Regions from separate parts of the Homo sapiens genome. Here region 2 is linked to region 1. Evidence: promoter capture Hi-C in human tissues and cell types (Jung and others, 2019). All regions are on one chromosome and are shown on one strand. Each heading gives the region's core, a stretch centred on a gene start or on the middle of the fragment in contact. The rest is flanking DNA. Distances are from core to core; before and after follow the strand shown. Region 1 holds the start of TTC7B (tetratricopeptide repeat domain 7B). Region 2 overlaps TDP1 (tyrosyl-DNA phosphodiesterase 1).

Evidence for each region. The method cuts DNA at HindIII sites, captures the fragments that hold promoters and counts their contacts. A contact is called where the count stands out against the background at its distance.
Region 2: a contact is called between a fragment that was not itself captured here and the fragment with the promoter of TTC7B in region 1, in 1 of the 25 tissues and cell types used here (dorsolateral prefrontal cortex).

The regions. Positions count from the first base shown.
Region 1 is chr14:90,813,479-90,818,790 of GRCh38, reverse strand. It overlaps TTC7B (tetratricopeptide repeat domain 7B), which reads left to right and starts at 2,361. Exons shown (of 20, transcript NM_001010854.2): 1 at 2,361-2,616. The coding sequence starts at 2,496. RefSeq lists a silencer at 2,188-2,367. The HindIII fragment of the contact is 18,929 bases long and covers 1-5,312 here.
Region 2 is chr14:89,965,495-89,970,806 of GRCh38, reverse strand. TDP1 (tyrosyl-DNA phosphodiesterase 1) reads right to left here. Exons shown (of 17, transcript NM_018319.4): 4 at 4,617-4,660; 5 at 3,385-3,440. Among named protein-coding and RNA genes, the nearest start is that of TDP1, 12 kb to the right of the region's middle. The HindIII fragment of the contact is 9,557 bases long and covers 1-5,312 here.

The sequences.
Region 1 (5,312 bases), core at 1,112-3,611:
TCAGGAGAGAGGAAACATCTCCTGTGGAGATTTCTTCTCCTTCCCTTCCTGCTCCCTCTTGGTGGGAGCTAAGGGCCAGGGCACTAAAGGGTCCCCTGTTGAAACTCTAACGTTCTAGTTCCCCTTTCCCTGGGCTGTTCACAGTGTCCAGGGCCTGTCAGCTCAACTTCCATCACCTTGGCAGTCCCTGAGGCACCTGAAAGTGATACTGGTCACATCAGAACACATCTCCTTATCTTTCCTCCTCACCTCTCTTAAATGTCTGTGATTCAGCCTCCTCATTGGTAAACTGAGGTCCACAGTGTGTGTTCTTCATCAACTCCGGTGGTGGGGGAGTTGTGGTGGGGATAAGAACCTGCGTGTGACTGCTCTTGGAAAGTTGGAGTAAGGGCACCCAGAAGGAATGACGACGACCCCTCAGTGCCTCCTTGTGACTGCGGGCGGGCTACGGAACCTTCCAGACTGACCGCTTCACTCTCAAATGCAGGACCCAGAATCCAACACTGCCACCACCACAGCTATTTCCCTGGCAGTATTCTCAACACTGCAGTCACAGTGATAGTCCAAAGTGTAGGTCTGATCATGCCACTCTTCCGTGAAAAGCCCTGCAGGGCTGCTCCATGTCACCAGAGTAAAAGTCAAAGTTTTTTTTTTTTTTTTTGAGACGGAGTCTCTCTCTGTTGCCCAGGCTGGAGTGCAGTGCTGCCATCTCAGCTCACTGCAAACTCCGCCTCCCGGGTTCACACCATTCTCCTGCCTCAGCCTCCCCAGCAGCTGGGACTACAGGCGCCTGCCACCACGCCCGGCTAATTTTTAAAAATATTTTTAGTAGAGACGGGTTTCACCATGTTAGCTAGGACGGTCTCGATCTTCTGACCTCGTGATCCGCCCACCTCGGCCTCCCAAAGTGCTGGGATTACAGGCGTGAGCCACCGTGCCCAGCCAAAAGCCAAGGTCTTATAATGGCCCACCAGGCACTACACAGAACTCCCCCCAACCTCTCAGAGTTCATCTCCTGCCTCGGCCCCTCTCCTTCGCTCCACCCAGCCCCTCTGGCCTCTGCCATTTCTCCATCCCACCCAGTGTGCTCTAACCCCAGAGCCTTCGCACTTGTGGTGTTCTCTGCCTGGGATACTCCTCCCCCAGAGATATCCTCATGGCTCCCCCTTAGTTTCTTCAAGTCTAATGCCACCTCCGTGAGGCCATCCCTGACTGCTCCATTTTAAATGGCAACACTTGCTCAGGCTGAAGTGCGTTCACTGCTCACTGCAGCCTCCACCTTCTGGGCTCAAGCAATCATCCTGCCTCAGCCTCCTGAGTAGCTGGGATTACAGGCATGAGCCACCCGCCTGTCCCAACTCTTTATGTTCCTCACTGAACCCTTCCCTGTTTCTTCAAATAGCCATTTTTACAGTCTAGTTTACTATTTTATTTTGCTTATTTTTCCCCCAAACTGGAATGTAAGCTCTCTCAAGCCAGGAATTTTGTTTTTTTAGCTCACAATTCTATCTCTGGCACCTAAAGCAGCGCCCAGCACATAGTAGGTGATCACTAGACAGTTGATTCACTGAGAGAACACAGAGGGACACCTCCCTAGGTCTCAGTCTAGGTGGCCAAGACAGGAGGCCCCACCAGTGACTGTGCCTTCCCCTCAGGGGGTCCGAGAGCTGGCGTGTGAGAGTGGCAGCCCCTGCCTGGCTCCGCTCAGCCATCTAGGGCACCCCTGGCAGGTGCTGTGCCTTGCCTGGGATGGAGGAGTCTCCGTCCACCTCTGGCTGGGTAGGGGCTAAGGCTGCGGGGCAGAGGGGCATCTGCTAAGGGGCACAGGCCAACCGGGCCCCAGGGAACCGCTGGCCACCTGAGATGGCAGGACAAACTCGGGCAGGCCTCCCCCCACCCCTCACACCTGGCTCACTGGTCCCACCGGGCGGTGACCTTCCCCAGGGTCACTGCCCTTTCTTGGCCCTACTCCTGGGGATCCAACCCGCTCCCAGGCTGTCGCTAGCTCCCTCCCGATCCTCTCCCTCCCCTTCATCCTGCCCAGACCCCTACCCCACCAGACCCCTCACCCGCCCTTGGTCAGATCTCTCTCCTACCCCGCTCCCCCACCCCCATCCCCACTTCCCCTCGGTCTTCACCCCGCCCCAGACACCCCCAGTCCCTCTCCCTGTCCTCCATGCCCACCCCGCCTTTCCTCCCTCGGGCCCCTGTCTCCCGCCCTAGCCCCCGCCCCTGCCCCAGCCCTGGCTCCGGCCCCGGTCAGTGCTGCGGCTCCGGCCCTGGCCGGCAGGGGCCGCTCCTCGCGGCGCCCGGGGCCCCGCCGCGCCCGCCGCCGCCGCCCGCCTCCCCGCCCCTTCCCCAGCCGGCGCTCCCGTTACGCCGCGGAGCCGGGAGCCGGAGCCCGAGCCCGCGGCGGCGGCGGGAGGCGGCGAGGGGGCGCCGCGGCGGCGGCGGTGGGGCCTGCGGGGCGGGCGGCCGGGCCCGGCCAGGCCGCGATGGCGACCAAGAAGGCAGGCTCGCGGCTGGAGACGGAGATCGAGCGCTGCCGCTCCGAGTGCCAGTGGGAGCGGATCCCTGAGCTCGTCAAGCAGCTGTCGGCCAAGCTCATCGCCAACGGTACGCTCCGGGCGCGCCGGCCTGGGCTGCGGGGGGCGCCGCGGCCTCCGCGGGAACGGGCCCCCGAGGCGCGGCCGGGCGCGGGGCGCGGGCAGGGGCGCGGCCGGGCCGCGAGGGAGCTGCGGCCCAGGGGATGTGCGCGGGACCGGGGCCTGGGGGAGCCCGGGTGCCCCGGAGTCACGCGGTGTGGGGGCCCGGGGGGGCGCCAGGGGCTGTCCCGGCGCCTGGGGTTCAAGCGTGCAGGGCGGGCTTCTGCGGAGTCTGGGGTGTCCGGGGGTCTCAGCGAGTCCGCTGCTCCACTGGGACCACAGGAGGTCAGGGGCCGGCCTGGGGCTTCCAAGAAGTTGGAGGTGATGGGGTGAGGGGGTCCCTCAGGACATGGGTGAAGTCCACAGTGTGTGTATGGTGTGCTCAGGGAATCAGGATGTGTTTATGGGGTCTTGAGAATGGGGTGTTGTACATAGACCCCTGGGGAATCTGGTTTGTAAACATATGGTGTTTAAGGGGTTCTGGGTGGAAGCGCAGACTCGAGGTGTGTGGGGTGGTGGTAGAAAGCAGGCTGGGATGTGCGTCCTGGCGTTCGGAGAAGTAGCATCAAGGCTGCCGACCTAGAGAGGTCAGGGTTGGGAATAGAGGAGAAATAGAGTCAGGGGGACCTGGAGGGAGAATATTGTGGAGCGAGATGGGAATGTGGTTGAAGAATGTCGGGAGATGGAGTTGGGTGGGTGAGGGGTTGGTGCCTGGGCCAGAAGGGGGTCTGAGGCAGCCTCTGAGTAGGAGCCTGGTGCCTGGAGTTGGTTCATGACCCCTTTAACTGGATTGGTTCTTGTACCCAATCAAATAAAATTGCATCCAGAATCCCATTCCAGTGCACAGCTCCACGTGGCCTTATTTGTTTTGGAAGCGAGTATCTTTAATATTTGCTTGTCTTTTAGTACCCGCCTAAAGCGCAGGCACCAGCACACCGTGGCCAGAGGGCAGAGGGTTTGTCTCATTTCATCCTGGGCTTCCCCAGGCCCAGTGAGCACATGTTGGCTGAACAAATGAATGAAAGAGTGAATGAATGGATGGCGGGGCTGCTCTAAGAAAGGACATCTGCACTATTTTCAACCTTCTCACTTCAGACTACCCAGAAAGGAGAGGGATGTCAGGTGTCCTCCTGGAGGGTGGTTTATGTTTGTGTCCTATGGTATTAGTGCCTGGAAATTAGAACTTGGTTTTGCGCACTCTCAATGATGGATGCATGCTGTGGGCAGGTACCTTCTGGGTGAACGCAGGTGCCATGGTGTGTCAGGGGCATGGAGATAGCACCGACCCTACACGGGCTCCACTTGGTGGAAAATGTGGACCCTTCTCAGTTATGTCAGCCTTTGAGGAGATGGTGTTCAGTGCCCTGGGCCCCAGAGGCAGCTTGCCTTTGCCCTCCGTGTCGGGCTCACCTGCTTCTCCGCTTACCTGCAGCATTTTCTCTTTTCCTCTCGGAGTTGCACAGTCCTGGGTCTACTTTGTGGCTTCCCAGCGGTGTAGGCATAATGACACCTTCTGTGCAGGTTGATTTTAGGATTAAATGGGTTTATTTGTGAGCCTCCTGGTCTTTTTTCTTCTGAATCCACTTGTTTCCTGCTGTCTTTGCTTATTCATTCACCCAATATTTGCGTGCCCACCTGTGCCAGTCACAGAACAGTGGTGAACAGCACTGACCAAGCCCCTGCCCTTATGCCCTCACCCTGCTCTCAGGAGGCAGGTGATAAGCAAATATGGAAATAAATAAACAGCACAGCTTCAGATAGTGAGAAGTGATTGAAACAAAACAGATGAGTTAATGTGATTGAGAATGACAGGCAGATGAAGGGGGACTCAAGCTATGATGGTCCCTGGAATGAGAGGGTAGATGGGTTTTTGGTGGCCTGGGCCCTTCCTATTCACCTTCATGGCCCCCGAAAGGCTTAGCTCTCTTCCCAGGGGCTGCTCCCAATGTCCTAAGATGCAGTCATGAGTGGGGCTTGGGGATCGGGGTTTGCGGGGGCACTGTGGTCCATGGGTCTGTGTGCAAGTTCAGTTTGGGGAAACTCATGGGACATAGATTTTTGTCCTAGAGACTCACATGGTGAGTGGTAGCCATTGATGGCAAAAAGTTACCCGGACTTGAAAAGATCAGACAGAGTGAGTGCTCAGGAAAATAAAACGATGAAGCCAAGAAAAAGATGAAACTAAACTAGAATGATTGTGGCTCTCCTTTGGTGTTTGCAAGAGGGGCCTTCCCTCCGTTTGACTGGTGAGGCCTTCCCACTCTCGGGCTGGTAGAGGGACTTCTTCCTGGCTTTTGGGGGCACCGGCTCCCCCATAGATTCTCGGGTGCATGAGCACAAGTTCTGGGCAGATTTTGCAAAATCCTGAAGTTAAAGCATCTTCTGCTTAGAATAAGGAAAGCAAGTGAATGTCACGTTTGTCACACTAAGACAGTTACCATGAAAACAACCACAGGCGAAAAAAAAAAAAAAAGAATACAGTGTTTGGAGCCAGCCAGATGGGGGACTGATTCTTGTGACCTTGGCCACTTCTTGACTTTGTGACATTGGCCAAATCACTTAACCACTCTGAGCCTCAGTTTTCTCATTTTAGAACGGGATTTAAATGACTTACCTTGCAGGGGTTGTTATGAGGGTTAAAGTAGCTAATGTCTCTCAGGGCCAGCC
Region 2 (5,312 bases), core at 1,651-4,150, 850 kb after region 1:
GCTGGACTCGCCTCATTAAGGAATGCTAGCTTCCTTATCACTCGATATGTTTCCGGCCTTTGTAGTTGAATGAAGACAGGGCTAACACAGAGCAGTGAAAAGCTAATGTTCATTTACCAGATACCTTTATAATGGGGCTACATGGCCTGATTCTGCAGCTCTGTTGTAATACAGAGGGGTAATGACTCAAGAAAGTCCTTGAATAATTATCTTCTTTGGCCCAAAACGGCACATAAGTAGTTCTGTGTTAAAATATTTAAGTCCAAATAAATTAAAGATATATAATAATTATTATATAATATAGTGCTTTTTGCTTTTTCTTTTGGACCACACGGTGGATTCATTTCACACCACATCTATATTCACCAAACTCCTCCTGTGTGCTATGTACTGAGCTAGACCCAGGATACAACAGAGAACAGGCCCAGGCCAGGCCCACAGCATGACGCAGCTTCACTAATGGGTGGTTAGATTTCAATGAAACAGAGCCCAAGCTACGTTGAAAATGCTATATTTTTGAATTCCAAATATAATATAAAAACACTCTTCAAGAATACATTAAAAAGGCTTTTGAGGGATTCTTGTTCTGATTAACTCAAAGCAAGATAATCCTTAGAAATAAGTATATTTCGGCCAGGCGCGGTGGCTCACGCCTGTAATCCCAGCACTTTGGGAGGCCGAGGCGGGCAGATCACGAGGTCAGGAGATCGAGACCATCCCGGCTAAAACGGTGAAACCCCGTCTCTACTAAAAATACAAAAAATTAGCCGGGCGTAGTGGCGGGCGCCTGTAGTCCCAGCTACTTGGGAGGCTGAGGCAGGAGAATGGCGTGAACCCGGGAGGCGGAGCTTGCAGTGAGCCGAGATCCCGCCACTGCACTCCAGCCTGGGCGACAGAGCGAGACTCCGCCTCAAAAAAAAAAAAAAAAAAGAAATAAGTATATTTCTACAAGCTCTCCCAACACAACAAAAATTGGATATAAGCAATCAAGAAAGATAAACAACCGACCCACTTCCACATTTATCAATCACACTGCAGAATGATTCTCTACCATTCACAAAGGAACAACAATCAACTAGAGAGAAACATCTATTTCCAGTACTAATACCTCACTACCTCTTGCCCAATAGCTTTATTCTAACATGACAGGTAAAATGAAACTATGAAACACGCACCTGTGATTTTTAGAAATTAGGTAAGAAAAACAGAATAATGTAAGAAACACACGTGCATCTAGCACCTAGAAATAAAAAATGTTAGATCAAGTCATGTTATTAAAAAGATTAAATATGACTGATAGAAACTGAAGTCCTCATTAATTCTTTCAAATTTATTGGTTCTACGACTTATTACAAAAAGATGGCACCTGAACAATAGCATACTGAGGTATAAATCCTTATGATCTGAATTTTTCTACATACAAATTCTGGATGTTACTTAAACTTACCATTTAGGTCACTCCTCATCCTTCTAAGGCTCGTAATAGCCTTCCCAAGATGCATTTGGCAATAAGGGGATGCAGGGAGAAGGAGGACACTTTCGTCCCTTTAGTTACTGAGAGTCCAGTGGATACTGTATTAGTGTGCCAGGGCCTCCAAAACAAAGCACCACAAACTGGGAGGCTTAGACAACAGCAATATATTGTCTCACAGGTCTGGAGGCGAGAAGTCCAAGATCAAGGTGCTGGCAGGATTGGTTCCTGAGGCTGTGAGGCACATCTGTTCCAAGCCTCTCTCCCAGCTTCTAGGAGCTTGGCTTGTAAATGGCGTTCTGTGTCTTTACATGGTCTTATCTCTGTCTCTGCACCCAAATTTCTCTTTTTATAAGGACACTAGTCATACTGGATTAATGTCCATCCTAATGCCTTCATTTTATCTTGATTACCTTTGTAAGGGCTCTATCTCCAAATAAGATCACATTCTGAGGTACTGAGGCTTAGGATTCCAACAGATCTTTTTTGGGGGTGAGATAATTTAACTCATAACAGATACAAAGGAACTGCAGTCTGCACTTTGCCAACACTCTAATGGGGTGACAGTTTGATTTCAAGGTCTTTAAGAAAAGGGAGGAAGAACAGAAAATGCCAATGTGACACCCAAGGATACTACTGCGAGGAGGAGCCAAGGCAGAAACTGCTTGTTGCCTCCAGACAGCCATTCTCTCCTCCTTCCCTAACAAAAGGCTAATTCAGGAAAAGGTGTGCTAAGCTAAAAGACATTTCTAGCCTCTTTTACAGCTGGTTAGCATGCAGCTGAGCTCTGCTCAATGAAATAGATGCAGGTGTTGTGTGGGACTTCCAGGAAGGCTGCTTAGATGGGCATAGCTAGAATGTGGGCCTTTTTGTCCTTTTCCTCCTTTCCCCTTCCTGCTACCTGGAATAGATGAGTAAGCTGGAGCTCTAGCTGCCATACTGGGCCACGAGGTGACTCTGAAAACTGAAGTCACATACAAGGATGGTGGAACAGAAAGGGTAGGTGGATAAGTCTCTGAGAACCCTGGTGCCCCCATCTAGACCATAAATGTTTACCATCTGAATGTGTCACGCTGGAAACAATTTGTCTTATTTAAGCCATTGTTATTTTGAATATTCTTTTACATGCAGCTAAAACTAATTCTGTGTGTTACAGGTCAAAAAAAAAAAAAAAAGCCCCAAGTGCCAAAGCTGCTTGAAAAATTTTAACAGCATTTTATCTACTGTTAATGTCAAAGGTTTCCACAATCTGATGCCCTAAATGTACCAAGAATTTTGAGGACCCTGACAATCATTATTTCTTGTGTGTTTTCCTCCATCCTACTTGCTGTTATGGGAATCTGCCCCGTAAATGTGTTAGAAATAGGGAAGGGTGGCACCTGTGTGATGCCCTATTTGGTCTGTATTGCCTAACATGAGGCTGATGAAGTGCAGGCAGAAGGCCTAAAAATCCATCACCTCCAGAGCCTAGATAAGGGAAGGCCACAGATAAGCCTCCTTTCCTCATCTCAGAAACACAAAGGGATCCTCAAAACAGAACAGAATTGATGTGCTACGGAAAGCATGGCACGTTGGCGGCATGTTGGCACATTCACAGATCTAGAAGGTATGTGGAGATGGTATTTTCCTTCATATTAAGACTGGACATGAAATTCTGTTATTTGAGTTAAAGCCTGTCCTTATCTACTTCCTGAAAGAGCACAGAGGAAAATGCTAAAATCCGTAAAAAGAATGTGTAGGATTAAATAGATCAAAGAATGCTGTTTTCCGGATATAACTTAATGTCTGTGTGATTTCAACAGTTTCAAAAGAAAAACTCAAAAGATGAGTGGCTTTCACCTGAGAAATACAAATCTTAGGTGTCAAAGCCCCTTTACAGTTTATAGTGTTGTCTGTCACCCTGAGGAACTCACCTGAACTCTGGTGGATACTGTTTTACGAGCCAGTCCACGTCAAAGCAGTAGTTAAACTAGATGGGAGAAAAGAAGAGTAACTAAGCCATAGGTAATTCTGCCAAACAGTTCATAAGGAGAATTGTTTAGTTATTACATTTAAGGAAACTCTAAAATAGTGATACACTACATGTATTATTTATAAACCTGGAGGGTTATGCTGCAATACTAACAAACCTATAATTTATCTTAAATGCATGGTTAAAAGAACCTAAATGGAGCCAAGTACATGAGATAACAGGTTCCCAGGAAATTATCTCTGCATGTTTTGGCAGCATCTGTACTTGTCCGCAGGGTGTTATTACATTATGTCTAATGGCCCTGAGATTAATTTAAATAAAAGGATTTATAAATTTATCCCTTTTCCCCTAGGTGATTATAAAAAGACAGATACTGGAGACAAAGATCCCAGGACTTTCAGAAAAGAACATTTCCTTTCAGGCTAACTTATTAGCTAGCTTTGTACACAGCCACCTGGGACCAGACATTCACTAGGCTTCTAACAATTACATCTTAAATGCAAGTTCTGTACTGGTCTTACCCGTGGAGGCTCCTCCCCATACCTGGGTAATCCTGGACTTAGTAACTCAGTCGAGCTAACAGGGCATTTGCAAATGCTCCCCACCTTCCAAATGGAAACCAGGACTTTCAATGCCAAACCAAACATAAAGGAAGCCTGCCTTTCTTCAGGGACAGGGCCCTTTGGACCACTTACTTGTGGGTCTGGACCATTACATGATTTATCAAGACAAAGGGACTAGCTCAGTCAGGAAGGAGCCACTGAACATGAAAATTCACATTTTTCTAAATTAAATCAAACTTGACTTGGCCTTCACCACTCTATCCATACCTCACCACTCTATGCACCAGAGTTAACTCAGTCCCATGAGTTAATCAGTATCCCCAAAAGAAGTGTCCCATTCTAGTCTTTCAAGCTGGAATGTCCAAAGTGACTTCTTGGCCAGCGGAGGCTGACTTGAGTCAAATGCTCTCCTGATAGTGACATCCCCATTCTATGTTGATGGCCATGGATCTCATTACTGTGGCACTTGAGCCAGCCTCCAGGTATGTGCCATCTCAGTCTTTGAACAGGACTGAGATCCCCAAACTATGCCTCTCATATTTTCTTATGGAGTTGTTTAATTACCTGTCTACTTTCACCCAAAGAAAAAACAGCTTAAAGGTATACTCACCTGAGCTGAAGAAACAAGCGTCCCAAATAAAGGAGATAAAATATCTGAGAAGACAAAACATATATCAAATTCACACTCACAAAAATCCTCTAGTCATAATAATCACTACTAACTCATTCAACAGTCACTGACAATCAAGATCTGACTCAGAACACAGTAAGCTAAACAGTTACTACAAAGTCAGACTTTAATGTTTCATAAAATTCAAAAAAAATTTCCCTATGGTATTTAATATTTATCATACATTCTTTTATAAAACAATGCAAAACCAAAATCTACAACTTCAGTACTGAATGATTGATCAAGTTTAGAAACTCAATATGGACAATAATGATACATATTCTTTTCAGATCTCTGAACTTCTACCTCCTCCAAGTACCCATTCAAGTCCCTCTCCAGGAAATCTCCCAACTCAAGACTAGAAAAACTTTCTAGAAAGATTTTATAAATGTGGACAGTTTAGAAAGACTTTCCAGAAAGACTGGAAAGCACCTGTGGCCTGTGAATGAAAGGACAGAGGCACTCACAATTATCAACTCACATTCCTGGTGTTCCTGGTCATCTCTAGGGAAGTCTCACTTTGTACCCATTCAAGCTTTATGTTAGGTAAGTTGAAAGCTCACTTCTCAAACCATACCACGAGAGCAAGTACACCATCATCGTGACCTTCCATTACAACAGCCACATCTGTGGAGA